2 separate regions of the Homo sapiens genome follow, and region 1 is linked to region 2. Evidence: promoter capture Hi-C in human tissues and cell types (Jung and others, 2019). All regions are on one chromosome and are shown on one strand. The core of a region is centred on a gene start or on the middle of the fragment in contact, and the rest is flanking DNA. Distances in the headings are between cores, read along the strand shown.

The links. The method cuts DNA at HindIII sites, captures the fragments that hold promoters and counts their contacts. A contact is called where the count stands out against the background at its distance.
Region 1: a fragment that was not itself captured here is called in contact with the fragment with the promoter of RNF145 in region 2 in 1 of the 25 tissues and cell types used here (lymphoblastoid cells).

Annotation. Positions count from the first base shown.
Region 1 is chr5:158,196,166-158,198,865 of GRCh38, forward strand. No RefSeq gene overlaps it. Among named protein-coding and RNA genes, the nearest start is that of LINC02227, 210 kb to the right of the region's middle. The HindIII fragment of the contact is 4,715 bases long and covers 1-2,700 here.
Region 2 is chr5:159,208,276-159,210,975 of GRCh38, forward strand. RNF145 (ring finger protein 145) reads right to left here and starts at 1,278. Exons shown (of 11, transcript NM_001199383.2): 1 at 956-1,278. LOC107986468 (a long non-coding RNA gene) reads left to right here. Exons shown (of 2, transcript XR_001742943.2): 1 at 1-405; 2 at 1,584-1,877. RefSeq lists enhancers at 1-44, 1-63, 1,651-1,750 and silencers at 961-1,150, 1,191-1,480. The HindIII fragment of the contact is 14,324 bases long and covers 1-2,700 here.

The DNA of each region.
Region 1 (2,700 bases), core at 68-2,567, 1.0 Mb before region 2:
TTGTTTTTGTTTATTTAATCAGATTCCAATAAAGTTGAGTATATGGCTTAGAGAGCGAGAGAATGAGAGAGGGGGATGTGTGTTGTGTTTTATTGTGTTTGGAGTGTGTGTGTGTGTCTGCAGAGGATATCTGAAGGATCCTACCACGAAAAATGATCCTCAGTCAAAATGTTAAAGTAGATGATGGTGTGTGCCAGGGGCCATTTCTTACTGTACCACTTTTCTTTCAAATCCGAGATGTTAGAGGAACACAGTACTTCTCCAAGATACAGTGATATTTCAGGCAGTACCAGACAGTGGGAAAGGCTTTTTGCTTTCGTTTGTTTGCCTGCTATTTATTACTATTATTATTAGCTTTTGATGGGGAGGGGATGGGAATTTCTGGTTTTGGGGACTTCTAGAATCCAATAACATAGAGAGCTGCTTGAGGTTAGTTGTGCTACATGGTTTAATGTGGCTTTTGTTGGGTTGTTTTTTTGTTTTGGCCAGGAGTAGGAAACCGGCTGCAAAGCAGGATGATTTGGTTTTGATGTCTGTCCCCTCCAAATGTCATGTTGAAATGTAATCCCCAGTAGTTGCAGGCAGAGCTCAGTGGGAGCTATTGGGCCACGATGGGTAGATCACTAATGAAAGGCTTAGCGTCATCCCGTTGGTGATGAGTGGGTTCTTGCTGAGTTCATGCAAGAGCTGATTGTTTAAAAATGTGGCACCTCCCTCAGCCCCTTGTTCCTGTTCTAGCCATGTGACACATCGGCCCTGTGGCTTTGCCTTCCGCCATGATTGGAAGCTTCCTGAGGCCTCACCAGAAGCAGATGTTGGTGCCATCCTTCCTGCACAGCATGCAGAACTTTGAACCAATTAAGCCTCATTTCTTTATAAATTACCCAGCCTCAGGTATTCCTTTACAGTGACGCAAAAATGGACTAACACACAGGAGTTACAGTTTAAAGGCCTGTAGGGGCCATGACTATGATGGAGATGATTGAACCCATCTGGGCGTGAGGCAGCTGGGATAGAAGGGGACTGTGCATGCAGGAGATGGAGCTACCGCATTCCAGCCCGCTGCTGCTGGGCAGGGATGCAAGCCCAGTGTTGGCAGATCTTTGATTTTTTTCTGGATTCTGATGTAAAGTTTCTTGACTTTAAAATGTTTATCACTCATTCAAATTAAGAGGAAAAAAACCAACTCACATCCTGCACAACCTTGGAAAGGTCTGTTTACTCCTTTATGAAACAAAAGCATTAGGGTGGATGAGCTCAAAAATTTCTACTTGACCAGACCTTTTAGGATTGTATAATTCCTGAATCCTGAGTTCAGACCTTCAAAATCCCTTCATTTCCTGTTTTTCTTTTTTTTTCACAAAGAGGTGGGCAGATGTTCAAAAGGAGAAAAGAGGAAACAAAACAGATGTAGAGAAGGATCAGGAAGGTCTAGATAGTGGAAGGTGGTGCCTGCCCATGTGCCACTCTGCTTTTTGGAGAAAAGCTTCTTTCTCTGAATTCTTTATGAAAGCTACCTTTCCCTCCCCTGAACCGCAATAGTCCTTTTCCAATCCCCTTTTCAACAGATATGCTTATTTAATATATTTATTAATTGCCTGCCTGGGGGCAGGCATACTTTTATGACTTCTGTAATTTTTCCACTTGTATTATAGTTACTTGAGTAAAAGGATGGAGAGAACTTTATTTTCCAAATTTCTTGGATACCAGGAAGGAGGCTGGTCTGTTGCAAGTACACACTGTGAGAGAAGCAGGGTGAGAAGAGGCAGAGCGGACAGGGCTTACGCTGTTTGGAAAAGAGTGCGTAGTGAGGTGGGTCACCTTTTGGAGAGCCCACGCTTTGAGAGCCAGCAGAGTGAGGTGGAGAGCCATCAAGACAGCCGACAGCTATGTGGCGTGAGATGCAATTGCCCTCCACTGTCCTCAGTTCTTCCACAAAGTTACCAAAGTTGTGAGGTGCTGGTGCCCGATCAAGGCAACAGGCACAGGTGTAGCAGCAGAGCAAAAAGGCCAGGAGTTTGCAGATGTCATGAGGAGAACTGTGGATTCAAACAAGCCTTGAAACTGTCCGAGCCAATTCCTGAGATGCAGTGAGGTCCCCAGGTAACATTTGGGTACATTTGGGCACATCTGGGCCCATTGTCACCTGAGCCAGGTTGTGAGCAGTTTGGGAGCAGGATCCTTGTCAAAGTTGTCTCTGGAGAAGATATGGGGACAACACAGTGCTTTTGCATGGAATGGATGTCAGTAAATACTTACTTACTGAATGAATGATTGAAGAAAGGAAGGCAGGCAGAAAGGAACGAGAAAGCTGTTAACTGCCAGTCCCTTAACATGGAATGCAGGCTTTACATGGAAAGACAGACTAAATAAACCAGCTTGGAGAGAGTTAATTTCTGCCTGCAGCATTCACAGGAAGGATAATGTATGCTGGGGCGGAAAAGCATTAGTTTTTCCCTTTTTGAAACCCCTAAAAGATTTGTCTGAAGCATATATTTAAATGGGCAGCGTACAGGTGTTTTCAGAGCTGCTCCAGCCCCAGAGAAGGCCTCAGGGCAAACCAGAGAAGACGGTACTTGGTAACGAGAAACACTCCTCAGCTACTCTGCATGCTTCAGTGGGAAAATGCAAATCAACTCATTCTCGCTTTTGAGGACAACTTCAGATAAAGGGTTCCCCAGGCAAAGTAACCCCTTCAAT
Region 2 (2,700 bases), core at 28-2,527:
AGGAAAGAGGCTCGAGAGCTCCCCTCCTATCTCGCCAAGGGTGCTGACTCTGTCGCGCCACGCCACGTACCAAAAGGCTCGCGAAGAAAAACGCGGGCGAAGTTCAGCATCCCCGAACAGAAAGGGAACTCATTCCAGAAAGGGGGTTCACGGGTCTGAGGGTCCTTGGGTGGGGAAAGCAGTATTGGAGGGAGAAGACAGAAGGGATGGCAAGACAGAGGAAACCACGGGGACAAAAAGGAAGGGATGAGGAGCCCTCTTACTATAAAAGGGACTGACGGACGGGATGCAGAGCAATGGGCCCCCCTCGAAAAATGGACTGGCAGGCCCTTCCGCACCCCCAAACAACCTCGCACCACCTGAAAGCGGGGAGCTTGAGTTTGGGGCTGCGTAGATCAAAGCAGGGTAAGACGAAGGGAAAGAGGGAGGGGAGCTTGGAAGCAAAGTGAACAAAGAGGCAAAAGAGGCAAAGTTGGAAATGGAAACGAGAAAGGGAGCTGGAAAGGGGCCGCTCTGGAAGGGTCTTGAAAAAGGCCTAGAAATGGGATGCTGGGGAGGCAAAGGGGGACAGCCCCGAGGAAGGGCATCTCAGGAATGTAAGGGAGCGCTCCAGGCCCTGGGAAGAGGAAGGGATGGGAGGGCGGGGAGGCAGCCGAGGCCCGGGAGCTGGAACAGAGGGGGCTTTGCGCGGGGCCCAGGAGGGGAGAGCAGGGTCGGAGGGAGGCGACCACCGCGGGAAGAGCTAGAGGATGGGAGGGAGGGGTGCTGCGGCTGAAGAGGGGATGTGGACTCCTCCAATGCTAGGGAGAAGAGGGAGGTGAAGCGAGATAAAAGGAAAGGGGCGAACAGGGAGAAGAGGAAGGAGCCTGCGACGCGATGGGGGAGGGGAGGGAGGCCGTGGGAAGCGGCCGGGGGGCGCGGGGATGGGAAGGGGCCGGGCGGGCGGCGTGGTCACCTCAGGCTGCGGACTCCCTCCCTGGGGAGCGGCGCTGCCGGCGGGCGGGCTCCGCAACTCCCCGGCTCTCTCGCCCGCCCTCCCGTTCTCCTCGGGCGGCGGCGGGGGCCGGTACGGCACGGCTCACAGCGGCGGCTCTTCTGCGCCGAGCCTCGGATGTTGCTTCTGGGGAGGCGGAGGCAGCGGCAGCGGCAGCGGCCCGGCCCGTACGGTCACCATCGTCCGCGGCAGCAGGCGCTCGCGGGCCGAGCCCCTTAGCAGCCGGCGCCGGCGTCGGCGGCCATGGCCTCCTGCGTTTGCTCCTCCCGCCCCCGGCGCTCTGCGGCGGCCGCGGCCCGACTTCCGCACTCTGCGCCTGCGCGCGGCCCAGCCAGCGCGGCGCGCCCCTCCCGCGCGCGCCCGCGCTCACTCACAATCGCGCCCGCGGAGTGCTTTCCGCACCGCCTCCGGTGCGTGGGCGGGAGACATAAGCCTAGCCAAGCCCATACAGCCCGGCTCGGGTGGCTATGGAGAGGCGTACTGCAGAGACACCTGGACGCGCACTGTGACAGGCGCCATTCTGACACACGTGCTCTCTCACTCCCAAACACCACGGGCCGCAAGCGCTCACACCCACACTCACCTGCAGGGACCACGTGGGAGAATTTGAAGGGCTGATCCTGTCCCGGTGCATTCGCAGTAGCAATGATGCGAGAATTCGTTTTAACCTCGTCACTGACTGGACTAGACTGTAAACTCCTTGGCGTCTGGGATGGCTCAGCCGTGCCCAGCACCAAGTGCAGGCACTCAAACCCCTGTGGAGTAAGTGACTGGATGAATGAATGCATTGGAACTGTTCACTGAGTATCTGTAACAATTTTGATCCCATGGTTTGGTACAAAGAATTTTATTGCAGTATGAAATTAAATGGTGTTTGTGTGTTTGTCTTGTCTTGGTCTAAGGTTCAAAACAGGCTAATGTATGTTTTCCCCTCCCCAACGTAGAGGAGTTCCACTTTGTCTCTGTGCCAGTCTCTATCACAGAATGCGCAATCCTACCCTAATTTAAATGTCCACACCTTTTAGGGCAGGAACTGTTGCCCAGAATACATAGCCTGAAGCATATTGTGTGTTTACACAACGATAGTCTTCTGGGCTTGGCAAGACTTCTCATTCCCCATTTGTCTGCCACTCTGCCTCACCACGACCTTCTGCAACCCCCACTTCTATCTCCCCTGCCTTCCACCATCACCAAAACCCCTCCACTGTTTCTTGCTTTCTCTTTCGTTAGTTCCTGGGGAGCCAGTTGCTATGAGCACCTAGCCTGGCCTTAGATGTTGAAAGGGCCAGTGTACACAGAAGATACACACCCAGTGATGGGTAAGATGTTGCAACTATACTGGGTCATGCTGAAATTGTGAAGCCTCAACTTCTTCATGTGCAAGAGAAATTAATGTACTGTAATCTCGATGTCTGTGTTGAGGACCCTCCTTGTAAATTCAAGTCTCTGGCCTCTGCCCTTTGAATGGTAAACCCCCAATTCTGAACACTCTTGTATCCTGCTGAAATTGTGAAAGCAAGCTCTGTATTTAGAAAATGCAATCCCTGGAGGTATCAGTCAACCAAACTCTGAGTAACTTGCCTTCCATTAGTTTGATAGCTCTGTAGGAATCAAGTGTTTAAAATGTGTGGGAATTGTGTACATAACTCACTATAACCACCTTTCATCCAGGTGCCTCAGACTACTTCACCATAGTCATAAATCCT